Regions from separate parts of the Homo sapiens genome. Here all the other regions are linked to region 2. The links are contacts of gene promoters, found by promoter capture Hi-C in blood cells and fetal thymus (Javierre and others, 2016). All regions are on one chromosome and are shown on one strand. Each heading gives the region's core, a stretch centred on a gene start or on the middle of the fragment in contact. The rest is flanking DNA. Distances are from core to core; before and after follow the strand shown.

What was found. The method cuts DNA at HindIII sites, captures the fragments that hold promoters and counts their contacts. A CHiCAGO score of 5 or more calls a contact.
Region 1: a contact is called between a fragment that was not itself captured here and the fragment with the promoter of COMMD3 in region 2, in 2 of 17 cell types (M1 macrophages and M2 macrophages). The highest score is 5.8, in M1 macrophages.
Region 3: a fragment that was not itself captured here is called in contact with the fragment with the promoter of COMMD3 in region 2 in 1 of 17 cell types (activated CD4 T cells); the score reaches 5.5 in activated CD4 T cells.
Region 4: a contact is called between a fragment that was not itself captured here and the fragment with the promoter of COMMD3 in region 2, in 9 of 17 cell types (fetal thymus, activated CD4 T cells, non-activated CD4 T cells and 6 more). The highest score is 11.0, in fetal thymus.

What each region holds. Positions count from the first base shown.
Region 1 is chr10:22,968,219-22,972,435 of GRCh38, reverse strand. ARMC3 (armadillo repeat containing 3) reads right to left here. Exons shown (of 19, transcript NM_173081.5): 8 at 3,947-4,130. Among named protein-coding and RNA genes, the nearest start is that of ARMC3, 42 kb to the right of the region's middle. The HindIII fragment of the contact is 2,764 bases long and covers 166-2,929 here.
Region 2 is chr10:22,315,071-22,319,176 of GRCh38, reverse strand. It overlaps COMMD3 (COMM domain containing 3), which reads right to left and starts at 2,789. Exons shown (of 8, transcript NM_012071.4): 1 at 2,621-2,789; 2 at 1,182-1,293; 3 at 1,009-1,072; 4 at 871-905; 5 at 464-524; 6 at 315-371; 7 at 159-218. The coding sequence starts at 2,759. It overlaps COMMD3-BMI1 (COMMD3-BMI1 readthrough), which reads right to left and starts at 2,789. Exons shown (of 14, transcript NM_001204062.2): 1 at 2,621-2,789; 2 at 1,182-1,293; 3 at 1,009-1,072; 4 at 871-905; 5 at 159-218. The coding sequence starts at 2,759. RefSeq lists an enhancer at 2,242-2,541 and a silencer at 2,812-2,931. The HindIII fragment of the contact is 1,853 bases long and covers 2,243-4,095 here.
Region 3 is chr10:23,088,248-23,092,587 of GRCh38, reverse strand. The region is part of intron 1 of LOC107984215 (a long non-coding RNA gene); the gene reads left to right. Among named protein-coding and RNA genes, the nearest start is that of MSRB2, 5.2 kb to the left of the region's middle. The HindIII fragment of the contact is 948 bases long and covers 1,435-2,382 here.
Region 4 is chr10:22,991,074-22,995,172 of GRCh38, reverse strand. The region is part of intron 10 of ARMC3 (armadillo repeat containing 3); the gene reads right to left. Among named protein-coding and RNA genes, the nearest start is that of ARMC3, 65 kb to the right of the region's middle. The HindIII fragment of the contact is 3,186 bases long and covers 877-4,062 here.

The DNA of each region.
Region 1 (4,217 bases), core at 298-2,797, 650 kb before region 2:
CCAATTTCAACAAATGATGCTAGGAAAAATTTATGTCTACATGAAAAAGAACGAACTGGGACCATAATTTTATACCCTATATAAAAATAAACTCAAAATGGATCAAGACCTAAATATAAGAGCTACAGCTACAAAACTCCTAGAAGAAAACATAGGGCAAAAGCTTTGATATTTGGTAATGAGTTATTGGATATGACACCAACAGCAAACAGCATAGCCAACAAAATAGATAAATTGGAATGCACCACAATTTAAAACTTTTTGCATCAAAGCACACAATCAACAGAGTAAAAAGGCAAACCACAGAATGGGAGAAACTGTTTTCAAATAATATCTGATAAGGGGTTAATATCCAGAATATATAAAGAACTTCTGTAACTTAGCATCAAGAAAACAACCCAATCAAAAAATGGGAGAAGGACTTGAATAGATGTCTCCAAAGAAGATATGCAAGTGGCCAGTAAGTACACGATAAAGATGCTTGAAGTTGCTAATCATTAGGGCATGCAAATAAAAAGTACAATGAGATAGCACCTCACGCCCATTAGGATGGCTACTATCAACAAACAGAAAATAGCAAGTGTGGGCCAGGATGTGGAGAAATTGGAACTCTTGTGCATTGGTTATGGGAATGTAAAATGGTACAGCTGCTACAGAAAACAATATGGCAGTTTCTCAAAAAAATTAAAAATAGAGGACGGGCATGGTGGCTCACACCTGTAATCCCAGCACTTTGAGAGGCTGAGTTGGGAAGATTGCCTGAGGTCAGGAGTTCAAGACCAGCTTGGCTAACATGGTGAAATCATGTCTCTACTACAAATACAAAAATTAGCTGGGTGTGGTGGTGCGTGCCTGTAGTCCCAGCTACTCAGGAGGCTGAGGCAGGAGAATCGCTGGAAGCCAGGAGGTGGAGGTTGCAGTGAGCTGAGATCACACCACTGCACTCCAGCCTGGGTGATGGAGCGAGACTGTCTCAAAAAAAAAAAAAAAAAAACTAAAAATATAATTACCATATGATTCAGTAACTCCACTTCTAGGTATATATCCAAAATAATTGAAATCAGGGACTCAAAGAGATATCTGTATACCCACATTCTTAGCAACATTATTCACATTAACCAAAAGGCAGATGTAACCAACTGTCCATCCATGGTTGAAAGGATAAACAAAATGTGGTCTATACAGGCAATGGATATTCTTTGGCCCTAAGAAGGGAGGAAATTGTGACACATGCTACAACATGAATGAAACTTAAGGACATCGTGCCAAGTGCTATGCATTTGCAAAAGGACAAATGCTGTATGATTCCATATATATGAGGGATCTAGAGTCATCAAATTCATAGAGACAAAGAATAGTGGTTGCCAGGAGTTTGTATGAGGAAGGAGTGGGAATGATTGTTTAATTGGTATACTTTTAGTTTTGCTAAATGAAAAGATTTCTGTGGATGGACAGCACCACAAAAATGTGAATACATTTAATGCCACTGAAATGTACACTTAAAAATGATGAAGACGGTAAATTTCATAGTATTTGTATTTCACCACAATTTAAAAAGCAAGAATAGGATTGATTCCTTTTCTTCAAGCAAAACCGCTCCCCTTCTTGAGTTCTTCAGTTCTGTGAGTGGCACCATTTTACTTCTAGCTGTCTAAGCCAGAAACCTGGCCTCATCCTTGGTATCGCCTTCTTCCTCTTTCAACCAACATAGTCATTCAAAAATACTCACACATGTGCTGGTGGTTCTCCTTGCAAAGTGCCTTGAGCCAGTCCTGAACACCGCATCTCTGTTTCAGGGCACCTTCACATCTCACCTAGATTACTACAGCAACCCCCTTTTGGTCTTCTGTGTCTGGTCCTAAACATTTCCAATCTCTTCTCCACTTTGCAACACGAGTTCTCTTTCTTTAACAAGTGAAAATCCATGATGTTCCCTCCCTTCTGAGTAACTTCAATGGCTCTTTGTTGCCATTAAAATAAAGTCCAAAATCCTTAACTGGGCTTATAATGTCCATGAGCACTGGGCTCCTCACCACGTCCATAGCCTGAGCGCTCAGTGTTCTGTGGCTTTCTGGTCATTGGCCATTCTGAAAACTTTCGGTTCTGGAACTTACCATGTTATCCCTCCTCTGGCTTTTATACACCCTGTTCCTTCTCAGAACCACTTCTCCTCCTCCATCCCATCTGAACCTTCTTTGACCAGACAATTTATCTTATTTACTCTAGGTCCTAGCTTGTTAATCACTGATTTCAGAAATATTTTTCTGATCCAGGTCTGTGCTGGGAGCCTTCCTGGGTGATCCTGTGTTTCCATCATTAATCACTTTGAACACTGCATTGTAAGTGCCTGTTTACTTTCCTGTTCTGGGTGAGAACTCAGTAAGAAATCATGAGTAAACGAATATATACATTGTTCTGGAGAAGTTATAGTTCACTCAAAATCACTTAAGTAGGTCGTTACAATGCCAGTAGTGGAACTAGTACTAGAACTCTAGTACCAGGAACTCTGCAGCATACTTTCCAGTACTGTGGCACATGATGGGTAGGCATCATCAAACTCACCACCTCAAAATGAGTGAGAACAGTCTTAGAATGACCCAGCCACATTTGATACATATAAATACTCTCCAAAGAGATGCTGAGATACGCAAACATTTCAGGTTTGGCATTGTCCGTGTCTCCCCATTTTACTTCTCTTCGGGTCTCACTTAGCTAAGAAGAACTAGGATAGAAGGAAGAGAGAACTGACCAGCTAGAATAATGTCTAAGTTCCATTTGATAGAATACTGGGTAAACCAACTTTTGCCAATATGAAGAAACCTTGATTTCACAACCAGTCTCTCAAATAGGCATTTATAATGTAACTCATGAGGCCCCTCTATGCACACTACATACTGGATGGTGAAATCTTGCTTACTGCATTAAAGCTTTGTCCTGAAGAAATCCAGTGTGTGCTGAAAATGGAGTGTTTCCCATAGTATACATATCAATATACAGATGTGAGTATATATGTTTAGAATATAAATCACTTAAAATAGTCAATGCTGTCATCATTTCTAAAAGTGGTGCAGAAGGGGAAAAATAAGATCACATCTTTTATTAGATAAAAGACTCCAAATATACATAAATTAAAACTATAATTTCATCTGTGCTTGTGCTGTAATTAATCTCTCATATTTTACAGATTTATATCAACATAACTTGTCACTGAAATGCAAATTGTATTATGTATATAGTATGAGCATATTTTTCACAGCTATGTAACATGGTGCTACTAGACTCCAGCTGAAACTTGAAAATTACTTTATAGATATCATTGTGAATGTGGATTTCTTCAATGCTCTCAGGTTCACAAACAATGCATACCTTCTATATAATTCCAAATTCAAGTGAAACAAAGGCTTAAAACTTAATGTAGAAATGAATTGTATTTTGAAAAATAGGATAATGAAATCATATTGAGTTCTTCATATCCCTGACAAATCTCTAACTCATTGGAAGTGAGATGAGTTTGGACTTAAGTAGTAAATATAGCACTATTCTCAAATGGTTTTTTAAAAGCAGACAAATGCTCTAGTGTTGATTAGTACTAATCAAAATTGAGACAAGAGGAATTATATATGTTTTGTTTATATAAAATAAGACATGGCAGGGTGCAGTGGCTCATGCCTGTAACTCAGTCAAAGTGGGCAGATCGCTTGAGCCCAGGAGTTCTAGACTAGCCTGGGCAACACAGCAAAACCCTGTCTCTACAAAAAATACAAAAATTAGCCAGGCATGGTGGTGCATGCCTGTAGTCCCAGCTACTAGGAAGGCTGAGGTGGGAGAATCACTTGTAACCTGGGGAGGTTGAGGCTGCAGTGAGCTGTGATCACGCCACAGCACTCCAGCCTGAGAAACAGAGCAAGATCCTATCTCAAAATAAATAAAATAAAATGAGACATACGATCATAAGCTGCTTTAGTAATGGCTTTTGCTGCATTCTTCTGAATATCAGGAATTGTAGAGTTTTCTGCAAATGACAGGAGCTTTTTAAGACCCCCTGTCTGCTGAATCTGCACCATAGTATCCATGTCTTCAAGGCAATTGGCTATCACTGCAAGTGCTTCTATATGAAGGTCATTCAATTCCTAATAATAAAAGCAAATACAACTTTAGAAAGTTGTACTAAAATGTACACTTCCCAAATTTGACTACAAGAGGAAATAAAGTCAGTC
Region 2 (4,106 bases), core at 1,540-4,039:
TACTACTTTTGATGCCCCTTTCCCATTAAATCCTTAACCAATCTTCATTATCTGCTGACAAATGGTTAGATTAATTTTCTTTTGAACTTCCCAAGAGTATAACTCTCAAGTAAACATTTATAAAAAGACAGGAATATTTATAGATCCTAATACTGTACCTGTAATTGTTCCATGCTGCAACTAAAACTAATCTCTGGATAGGATGGGGAATCAGTGTTCTAGGGCAGGAAAAAAAACACGCAACAAGAAACGCTGTTTATTTAAATCAATGAAATTATAAATTTCATTATTGGATAAGACTTATCTATAAATACCTGTACACTTAAGGTCACCAAATATGCAGGTCTGTACATCCTATGAAGTTGATTGGTCTAAAATAACACAACAAACACGCAACAGCTTTTAACTCTAGGTTTTAAGAAGTTCCCTAAATCCCCCGCTAGAGAAGTTTCTTAAACTTTACCTTTATCTGATATTCCAAGCGCCAAGAAACATCCGTTATATGAGGGAGAGATCTGCCTATACTGAAAGATGCAATGATAACTTCGTACATAGTCTCCTCAGAAGAACTTTTCAGTTATTTATATTTACTAAGAATGGCTCTACTTTCCACCCCCAACTCCATTTTAATCCATTCTGAATTTAAACCATTGTTAAACTTTATTTTTAAATTATGAATGGTAAAGGAGCATTTCAAAATCATCTCAATAAACGATCTTTAAAAACATGAGCTTAACTTCAATTGCTTGACATGCCCTTTGGCTCCTTTTCTTTGGGTCAAGATCCCGAAGATCTTGTTTCACACCAACACTCTCCATTCATACCTGCAAGTGAAAAGTGCCTCAGCTTGACACCTTATACAGTACCTACCTTCCCAGTAGGATTTCTAGGGAATTCTTATTATTCTGGAGAGAAAAAAGAAAGCAAGAAAGAAAGAAAAAAAAACATCTTTACAAACAAAGTAAAAGAAAAATAGTACTGTTAATTAAAAATTTTAAAGTAAGTAACCTGATATTCCGTGCAAAACAGTTCTATTCGCTCTCTGTCAAATTTACAGTCTTCTAGATAAGTGCTAGAAGAAAGAAAAAAAAAGCCAAAGTTCTGTCTCCATTTTTAAAACTGAAATTGAAATCATTAAGGTAGTATTTGAAAATAAATGGATATTTAAATAAATCCTGTACCTTAGAGTTGACTTGTCAGCTCGGTGCTTTCCTGCCTCTAGTATGTAAGTTGCAGCTGCTGCATGACAATGTTTTAAAACCACTGGGTCGATATGTTTCAAGTCTGGATGATCTAAAATAAATTAACTTCCAGTGATGCCTATGATAATAAATTCTTTACAGTCATGTTCCAAAAAGGATATTTTAATTTGGGTTTAAAAACCCTTTAACAAGATTAAAAACATCAACTATAAGGACAGTCAATTATAAGTAAATGAGATGAGCAACAAGATCAAGTGAAAAACAATAAAAAGAACACAACAAGAACTCTACTATTACTAGCTTCAATTAACTTATTTTGCCTTAATATTTTTACTATTAAAAAATATTATAGCCCCCAAAGAAAATATAACAATGCAATGGTCATTCTAACACTGGAGTAAATTCAAAGGAAAAACAAGATAAATATTTTACATTGTGTCAATTTTAGAATAAACTTCCATCCTAAAAATGATGAGTTTAGGGTAACCGGCTCCATGAACAAATACATCAAGGGGGTAGAAGGTAGGGCATGAGTTCAGAATATAAGATACAAATTTCAAAATTATATTAGTACTTTCAGGGTTTGACAGTCATTTTTTTTTTGAGATTAACCCAGGTGGTGGTTACTATTTTCGTTTAAGAACTTCCACTTTCATACTTTTTGTACAAGTGTTTAGTTCATGAAACTACAGAAAAAAAACAAAAATTTGAATTGTTGGGATATTTATATTTAAGAAAATCATCTAAAAGCGATCGGTCTTAAAATATGTCTTCAATCCATACTGACACTGCACCTCCGCAGTCACTGACCGGATCGCTTAAAAGACACTCGCATCCTGGTAACTGGGGCGGAACAAAGTATTGTGCATCATAGTTTAAGGTTCTAGGCGTAGAACCTGTGTAAACATGCTGAACTAGAGCGCTGGAGTGATCATAGCAACTTGAGGTATGCTCTAAGTTGGCAAATGTCAACACTGTCTGACCTAGTAATTACTTCGGAAACAGACCCTTAAACCTTTGCTAGCCTAGCCCTGGAAGCTTGAATTGCAGGGAGCTCCCCAGATGAAGTCCAACTGTCAAAACAGCCGCAGCCTCAGACAAGGCTAAACACCTTAGATGTTTAGGCCACAAACAAGACTTGAACACCGGCTTTACAAAAGAACAAAGAGACTGGGAGGGAAACCGGGCCAGGAACGTGGAGTTGGCTCTATGCAGGTGCCAAGTGGGGCCAAAACAATGCTCAGAGTCTGCTCCGAGTCCTGGCAGAGCCACGTCCCCAACACTCCGTCCGGAGCGAAGGGCAAAGCCCGGAGACTTCCTCTTCCCGGGGCTTTCCCCTTCTCGCTCCGCCGGCTCCTCTTCTCCGAGCGCCCCTCCACCCCGGCGGATCCAGCTCCGAGCCGAGCCGAGCGGCTTACCTAACACGGCCTCGTCCGCCTGGGCGTCCAGCAGACTCTGGAATGCCGCCCGGAGGAGAAGCGTGAAGGCGTTGGAGTCGAAGGAGCGGGGATCCGCCAGCATCTGGAAGCCTTTCTGCACAGACTCCGAGAGCTCCATTGTGAGCGCGCCGTGACCTTCGACACGCACACCACGTGACACGCGCCGCGCGCTCAGCTGATGCGGCCGCGCGCGCACGCGGCTCGGGGCGGCTGGCGGCGGCGCGGGCTGCGGGGCCTCCCCGCCCGCCTCCGCGCCCGCGCGCGGGTCCCGCGCCCCCAGCCGCCGCCTACGGCCTCCCACCGTTTCCGTCCAGCTCTCGCTTGTCCAGCGCAGGCCGCGGGAGCTGCCGAGCCTTGGCGAGAAGGGCGGCCTCGGGCGTTTTGTGGACGCGCTCGGCGCTTTCTCCTTGGTTCGGCGCTTACCTCGGACGGCCACCAGCTCGGTTCCCTGAGAGACCCCGGGGAGACTGCGGACGGTGTCGGGATCCCGGCCCCCGCCTCCCGCAAACGGCGTCCTCCCCGCTCCTCGCTCTGCGCGAATCCTGCGGGAAGCTCCGATCTCAGGCAACTGGATTTTGCTTTTGTGGTTTTTTGTTTGTTTTGTTTGTTTTTTAGCTCACCAGCTTAACCTCGCAGCACTGCCCTTTTATGAGACTGTAAGACATCTAATTATGTGATTCTTGCTTATTTTTACTTTTTTTTTTTTGTCATTTCTGGAATACGGCAGTAGTGTCCTTCCTGCATGGGGGGTGTGTACACATGCACGCATACATAGAGTTCCTGTATGCACTGCACTCCAGCAATCGGATTAATAAATTATTCATGAACAGATTTGACAGGATTATTAACAATTTTATATGCCGCTGCAAATAAAGCCAACTGCCATACACATTTTGTGCTACTCACCACATCTATGGGTCCCGTTTTAGTTGCTCTATAGAATCTGCATAAATACGTTTTTATTAAACAGCTACCTTAGTAAAGTACAGTTAGGAATGGCAAGATCTTTATTAGAAGTGAGTTACTGTTTAGGATGCTCATACCTTTAAAGATTCAAATACTGTATAAAGTTTAACTTCCTCTCTATTTCTACGAAGTTGGTTTAGAGAACAAGAATGATTCTTTAAAAAACCCGTGAAGCAAAGTAGATTAGGTATTTTTAATCAAAAGCACTTGAAAAGTTAAAAAATGCAAGTTCTTGAAGGGTGGAGGGAAGGGATGCGGAACAACAAAGATGTTTTAGTCTTCAGGAGCGATTATTTGCAACATTAGACCCAAAGTGAAACATTATTTTCTTTTTCTAACTTAGATGTCTGTTTTAAAAATTTTTGATGGATACAGTTGACATTTACCTTGGCACCAATACATAAAGTGTACCTCATTTCACAACAGGATGCAAATGGAGTAAGCATCAGTAACAGATTGAGTAACTACTCAGCCCTCCTTTGAAAGCTTTAAAAGGCAC
Region 3 (4,340 bases), core at 659-3,158, 770 kb before region 2:
GATAAGTACCTTGTCTATGATCACACTGCTAGTTAGTTGAAGAGTTTGTAAAGTTCCCCTAAAGTTTAGAATTTAGAAAATATCAAGGAATACCGGTTTAACTCACCCACCTTCACCCCCAATCCCAAGCAAAGTTAATAAATTAACTTAACATTGTGACATTGTGGGAAAAAAATCATGGAGTCTGGTGTAAAACACATTCAAGTCAGAATATCTTAAATTTAAAAGACGCATGAGCTTGATCAAGTATTCAACCTGTGACAGATCAGTTTTCTTATCCCCAAAATGGGGTTATTGTAAGGATTAGATACAACATACGTTAAAACACCTAGCAAACCCTTTGGTACATACTTGGTTTTAATAAACGTTAGTTGTTATTGAAGATTTAATGAGGACAACGGTAATTGGTAAACAGAGCTGATAACCAATCTATCCTTGCATTTCTACATATCCTCACACTCCCAGAAAGACATTCTAAGCACAGAGGAAGTCCCTCCCTCCCTACCACCATTCTCCTTTACACCTGCTAGGAGGACCTTTACCTCATCTGTGATCAAGCCCTTACTGGTCTTAAAATGTCCCCTCTTCTCACCACCATTTATCTGAATCCAACTTAACCATCAAGGCCATGCATTAACCTCACATTCTTGGACACATGGTCTTAGCCTGAACAAAACTCTACTTTATGTTTTCCCTTTTACTTTGTACACTGAGTGGTAGAGACTATCATTTGCCTGGCCGATATCCACTCTCTCTACTTACAAACAGATCTTTGATTTTATTAAGAGTAGCAATATGCCTAGCTAAAATGTTACATCTGTCAGCTCCCTTGTAGTTGGTGGCAATCATATGATGCTGTTATGGGCAATGATAGGAGCAGACATCACTGGGAGCTACCAGGAAAACTAGTTAAAGAGGAGCTGGCTCAGCACTGGACTTTTGCTCTGTCTTTTGTTTCTGCTTGGAAATTAGTCATGATGGCTGGAGCACTGGCAATCTTCTGGTATACATGAAGATGAGACCCACATCTTGATTTTAAAGAAGTAGAAGACATGAAGGAGCCCAGGATTCTGAAGACAGTGTGGAGTCAATATGCTAGTCTTGGATTGCCTGCCTTCAGATTTCCAATTACATGAGAGACCAATAAATCTATATTTTGTTTAAATCACTGTTACTGGGATTTTCTGTTTCATGAAGTTGACACAGTGTATATCTGATGTCCTGAATTTGATTGTGAGAATCTTCAGGAAAGGCAAAATTCTATAACTTTGACTCTTTGTATATCCAACACACTTCTCTGCAAACTATAAATTTGATAATAAAATCCCTAAAAGATAGGATAGAATGACCAAAAAATGGGAGATAAGTGCAAAAGCCAATTTGCTTTTCCCTACCAAAAACCATTTGGGAAAGAATGAGGGACTGGAATAAGCTTTACACAATTAATCTGCACTGAAAATACTTTATCTGCTTCCATCTGCCCAAAGTTCAATGTCGATACTCATTTTTGTTTTACCTCAATCTAGAGAATTCCTAGAAACTAACCAACTGGAACATCTAATATATATAAAATATAGTTTTAAAGCTCTAAAGGCAGTGAATGAAGACTTAAATAAATGGTTCGATAGAAAAAAATAGCATGGGATAAGCTCTGGGTTCAATTTCTAGGTGTTCTCCTAAGCAGATACAGATGTTTTGGACAAACCAGTCTCTGGGCCTTGGTTTGATTATCTGGAAAATGACACGAATACAGGGGAGGGTGGCCTAGAACTAGAACTCAAATTATATCTCAACTCTCTTCAGTCTGTAATTATATGACGGGTGGTGAAAAATGGAAAGATACACTTGCTGACCAAAGAGCTGAAATTACGAAGGTTAAAATACATTCAACTTATAGATTTAAGCTATGTCACTTATAATCCCAATGGATTACTTTACAGGAATTGAAAAAATAACAACTGAAATAAATGTGGATAAAAATAGACTTTTATGTTAAAGATAATATTGGAGAAGTAGCCTCTCACATGTTAAAAGTGCTTATCAAGGAAGAGTAGATATGAAAACAGTGTTCTGATTGAAATAATAACCAAAAAATAGTCCAGAGAGATAAGAGGTTCCAGAAATTAATACATATTTAACCTATTAGAAACAAGGGGATATAAAATTATTCAGTATATTTTTTGTGGGAAAGTGACTATCAATACAGGGGAAGTAACCTTGGCGTCTAAGGCTTAGATGAATAATTCACTTCAAAAGAATTATTTTTTGAGTTAAAAGTAGTATGTGGATATGTGTATCATGTCAGAGCTCAGAGTACAATACCCCCCAAGTATGGTGCTCTGGTATGCTGAGCATTTTTGAATTAAATGAAATTGGAAAGCTTTAGAAGCTGCCTCAGAAACAACGACTTTCTAACTTTTTATTTCTTCCCCACAAGTGAAGAGAAGGGCTTTCTCCCACTGAGTCTTCCAAAAGAAGTGCAGTTGTCTTAAGATCTCTTTACTAGGAATCTTATCAGATAACCAGGAAAGATTAACTACTGGAGAAGAGGAAAGACTAAAAGTCATCACTATGCCCTGAAACACTTTTTATCTGTTCTTCTGATGGCACCTCTGAGAGATTACTTTATTATTTAAGATTTATTTAAGATTATTTAAATATTTACTATTTAAATAAAAATTAAATGCATAATAGGACAACCTTTGTTCACAGTACAGTTCTGCCCCTCACCTTCCCATAACTGTGGGTCCCATTCTTCTTCCGAAAAGAATAATTCAAAAACTACTGTCTGCTCTTTGGGCCTATTCAATTTTCCTGAAAATTATTTACAATCCCTCAAAATTGCCTAAGTTTCCGCCATCGCCCTCTTCCCTATGAAGAAGATATATAAGTTTCAACAATTTGGCCTTTCTTTGAGTCTCATATTTGTGGGGGTCTTGTGACCATGTGCACTTTAATACATTTGTATGCTTTTTCTTCTGCTACTCTATTGTCAGTTTATTTCAGCAGTCTCACTTCAGAGGGAAAGTTTAAACTTCCCTACCACACATACACAAACACACACACACACACACACACGAAATAAAACAATACTGCATACATCCATTTTGAAATAAAAATAATTTTTGGACAATAAAAGCAATAAAAGGAGTTAGCACTGAACAAATGATAAGGTTGACAGGTTCAAGTGAATGAAATTTAAGTACATACATACATACCACAAGATGAAGAACAAAAAATGATTACTCTCAAATTAGAAAAATTAAAATGATAAAAATACGAGAGTATTGTAATACACATAACAGTAAACATTTAACATTATATATATTAGGGAAATTAATATTATCTATATGGCCAATTTCAGGTCTGACTGGACAGATGGTTAAAGAATATGAACAGATGGTTTGCACAAGGAAAAATACAAATAGTGAACAAACACTTGGGAAAATGTTTGGCTTCCATAATAATTAAAGAATTAAAAATTAAAATGGCCTAATATATTGCCTCATGCATATTAAATTATTAATAATAGTGTTTTTTTGGAATTAAAGCTACCAGAGCTTTAAGAACTCATACACTGTCTGTAGAAATAGGGTCATACTTTTTCTGGAAAGAAATCTGACAACATGTACTAAAGATGACAATTTGGCAAATTGGCTTTGTGGAGCAAATCCCAAGGGAAAAAATCAATAGTAAAGAAAGCTCCAGTTTTGCAGAGAAGTTTACAGTTATGCTTTTCATAATGGCAGATGAATCCAGAGTCATTAACAGCCAGGAAATGACTAAGTAAATCTTGACATAGCAATACAATGAAACATTATATAGCCATTAAAATGTCAAATATGAAGACTACCTGGATTTATGGAATGGTCTGCATGAAATAATGTCAAGGAGAAAAAAGTAGAATACAAAATAGTTCATACTTGACAGTAAAAGTGGGTAAAAGCATGCACATGGAACCAATCTCTACTGAGGCATACCATTTTGGAAGAGGTTAGGATTGTTTGGTGAAAAGATACTTCTTTTGTACTTTTCTCTTCAAGTGACTTTTTACATTTAACAAAATTTCATTTTAGATAAATTAGAAAACAGAAGCATGTAAAGAAATTATTGAACACTGTCTCAAATCATTACTGATAATATTTGGTGTATATATTTATTCAATCTTTTTTAAGTATACTGTAATTGATGGCTGATAGTTTAATTACTTTCCCTTCCTTCTGAACTATACTCTGATTCTTCTTTGAGAAACAACTCCCCTTCCCATTCTCAGTCATGAAATTTAGATAAGATGGCTCCAGAGCAGAATTTCACAACCTCAGCACTATGGACATTTTGGG
Region 4 (4,099 bases), core at 1,220-3,719, 680 kb before region 2:
TGTATTTTTCCCTGTACACAAGCTGAAGCCTGTCATATTTTTAAAGCCATTATTTTGGTTTCCCAAATAGTATAGCATTATCCAAATGAATGGGATGGAAGTCAAACTGCTTTGTTTTAAAATCCAGAATTATAGGGCCATATGTCATCACAATAATTTGAAAATATTTTCTGATATTTACTATCATTAGTCTCCATCCAGTTGGAGTTTAATCAAGTAAGAGTTTAAAATGTAAATTGGGAAAAAAACAAACTAAAAAACAAATATGGGAATGTATGAAAACATCTGTTTATATCATTTGATATATGTAAACAGAGGTGAAGCTTGACATGTCATGTGACGTCAATCTATTAGCAAGTCCTGACTATTTTCCTCCTCCATATTTCTCAAATCTCTCCCTTCTCTCCATCCTCCCACAGAATCCAATTCAGCATCCTCTCTTGTGGGTTGATATAAATAATCTCCTAAGAGGTCTCTCCTCACCCCCTCCAGTCCTTCCTCCGTCTTACAGCTAAAGTGATGTTTTAAAATTATAATCATATTGCTCCCCTACTTAAAACTTTCACGGTTTCCCATTGCTTAGGATAAAGTTCCCAATTTTTTCTTTTTCTTTTTTGTTATATTTTTAAATTATTTTTCTAGAGATGGAGTCTTGCTACGTTGCCCAGGCTAGTCCCAAACTTCTGGCCTCAAGCAATCCTGCCACCTCGGCCTCCCAAAGTGCTGGAATTACAGGAGTGAGCCGCCATGCCTGGCCTACCCCCAAATTTCTGACATGGCCTCCAAGGCCTTACACAAGCGGCCCCCACTTCTCACGCCAGCCCCATGCACCCCCAGCCCCTCGCCGCCTCTTCCTGTTGCTCCGTGCTCTAAGCTTCTCTTGCAGCCTTCAATATGCCAGGCTCTTTCCCACATCAGGGCTCCCCTGCGCTCTTCCCATTTCCTGACATCCTCTTCCCCCAGGACAATGCCCAGCCCTCTTTCACAGCTCAGCACAAATGTCTTTTCCTCAAGGAGGCACTTCTGGATCCCCAAAGGAGATTTCTTTTTAACATGAGCTCAGAGCATTTGTGTGCTAAATATACACATTTCTTTTTGTTTAAAAATATGATGTTCTGGCATAAATGTTTACATCAGAAAAAAGTAACAATTTAAAAATGTTATTTTGCAGCACTCATGAATGGAATTCAGCAGATTTTTCATTCAAATGCCCAAGCCCCACAATAAAAGAGCACTTACAGAAAGGATGCTAAGAACATCACTGAGGAAAAATTCAAACACAAATAGCGTCTATGGCTCACTAAAAATATTGTGCGATTTCATGTCTGTGTCTTTGCACTTGTGGTCCCTTTGTCCCAAACACCCTTCCCTATCCCTCTGGCACTTGTGGCTGGAGAACACTAGCTCATTCTTCACTCTCTGCTTACCTGTCCCTTCCTCTGCAAAGTCATCTGTGACCATCACGGCCCTCCTTGTTAATCACTCCCTCTGCTGTGCTATGTCTGTACCTGGTACTTACCTCTTAGAGGTAATATTTGAGTCTTATTTATATTTCCGGTGCTGAGAAGATCAATGTATTTTAATTGACTCGAATCAACTCAAGGTGAGTGAGCAGAAATTCGCTGCAGGTATCAAGAAGAAGGGAGGGGGAAAGTGCTTAGCTCAGCTTTAAGTTTGCAAGAAGGGATAGGATCCAGCAACACTGCGATTTCCAGTTTTATCACTTACAGCTGCTCTTGAAATTGGTTCATTTCCTCCCTGCCCTCATGCTTCTCCAATTATACAGTGAGGTAATTTTTAGATGGTATTCAAGAAATAAAATTTTACACTTTAGACAACTTCTTGGGAATATATTCTTCTCTTTTATCAAGGGATGTCTCTATTTTGTCTTTGCAGACATTGTTGACTCTGTTTATTTTAGTGTGCACCAGTTGACACCATTTGGTACCTTTCAGAGTTGAATCCTTGCTTCAATTTGAGGTTCACATTCAACCCAACTGCAAAGTCTAGTAACATGAATCAAGGGTGACCTTGGGCAGAACAGAAATCTGTTTAACAGAGCCCACATACAGGGTAATATGTGGAACCCGATGGAACAGATGGTGATATTGGCAATAAGAACCTTGTTTGTTAACAGTGATTACAACCATTCCCACCAGCATGACTTTTCATGTCTCCGTGAGTTTTGTCACACCAAGGAAGACATATTGGCGGCAGACACTCTGCAAGTGGTCAGGGGCGGTGTGTACGCAGCAGCAACTCAGAGCTGGCATTTTTAAGCCTTGCCGGCTGCAGGAAGTCTGAACAGGTGGAACACTGGCCGTTATGATAAACAGGTCTCCTGGTTATCACAGCCAGATTTGGAATGCTGTAAACAGAATTCCTGACTCTTGTTCCAGCCAGTTTCTCAACAAAGGTAATGATCCAAGAAGTGGAGTGTGTTTGCTAAATTGGTCAATTTCTGAGTCCAGAACAAGGATCATCCCGCCACAGCCCCACAGCTACAGGACGCTAGTATATGTGCCCCTAAACTCTGGCTGAACTCCAGGTTGACAAAACTAGCCAAGAGAATGTTCTTCTTTTAAAGAAATATTATTTAAGAAGTTTTTCACAATTAAGGGAGACAACCAATTAATTGTAGGCTTATGCTTAAAATGAAGGTTTTAAAATTAACATAATTAAAGTAAAGCCTAGCCACAGGGAAAAAAATGTGTTTGCATCTATAGCAAAATAAGAAAAATGCCCCCCGCAAAATGCTAGGAAATATGTGAAACCGAATTGATTACATCATATTGATGCACCTTAGCAGGTTTCATTTTGAGACTTTCAGAATTCTCTTTGATGTTGCAGCCGCGGTGACATTATGCTCTCTCAAAGAGAACAGCATGACTGCAAAGAGAATAGTGAGTGCTACCCCAGCACTTCCACAAAGAGCATGCATGTTTTTGCTACCGATTTTGAGGCAGTCAATCAAAGTCTGGGGAAATCAAATGTAATTTCCTCCCAAGTGACACAGAGCCTTTATTGACCTATCTGTTCAATCACAATACTTCACTTCCATACATGCTACCTTGTTTCAAATGCTAGAATGCCCTACTCATAATTAACTACCTGCCATCAGCAAAAAACAACTCTCTTTTGCATGGCTGACTTGTCTCCTAATAAAATAGAAATGATGGTCAAGGAGTTAGGATATTCATAATAAATGACTTTTGCAGCTACCAAATGTTTCTGTTTAGCCTGGAAATCAGCGTATTTACATATCTGTCAATGACAAGGGATACAATCCCAAAGTAATTAGAGATACCATGTTGTTGATTTTCTTAACTAAATAATAAGGATGCTGAATGCTCTAGTGCCACAGCAAACAAAAAAAAATCCCTGCGCTTGCCAGGACTGGTTTATTCTCAGCAGCTCAGATGTCACTTTTTCAGAGAGCCCTTCCTTAACAAGCCCTGTATCATTCTCTAGGCCCCTTCCTAACCCCGGGGCCATGGCCCTCTTTCCACATTGTGCTGTTTGAAGTTTACCTATACTGTAACAATTCTGCAATTACCATTTTAAAATTACTTGTGTACTGCTGGCCTCCCTGACTGAAATGTAGGCCTGATGTGTTCCTTTCCTGTGGTACCCCAAGAGCCTAGCACAGTGCCCAGCAGGTAAAGGATACCCAGATAATGGTAGAATCATTACCAAAAAAAAAACCTAAAACAAAACAAAAAAGAAAAAACAAAAAAAAACCTACAGTCAAGGTGGTAAGTTCCCTGTATTTTGGGGTGAAATGATAACAGCTGTACCGACGGATCACATCCGGCCCCCAGTGGAAGAAGCTGGATTCCAGACTCCCTGTGATACTGGCTAGGGGGTAATCTCTTACATGCACAAAATACAGTAGATTATATAGATTCATTTTTACTTGTTTGTTTCATAGTCAAAAAAGACAGGATGCAGAGAGACTAAAACTTGCTCAAAGGTAAGTTAATCAACAGAGACCGGAAAAACAAACACATGGTTTTCTGACCTTTAATTTATTAGTTTTTACATTTTTCAACCTCTTAAGCTTTAAAAAGTATAGTATTTTCAGGAAAACAAAAACCAA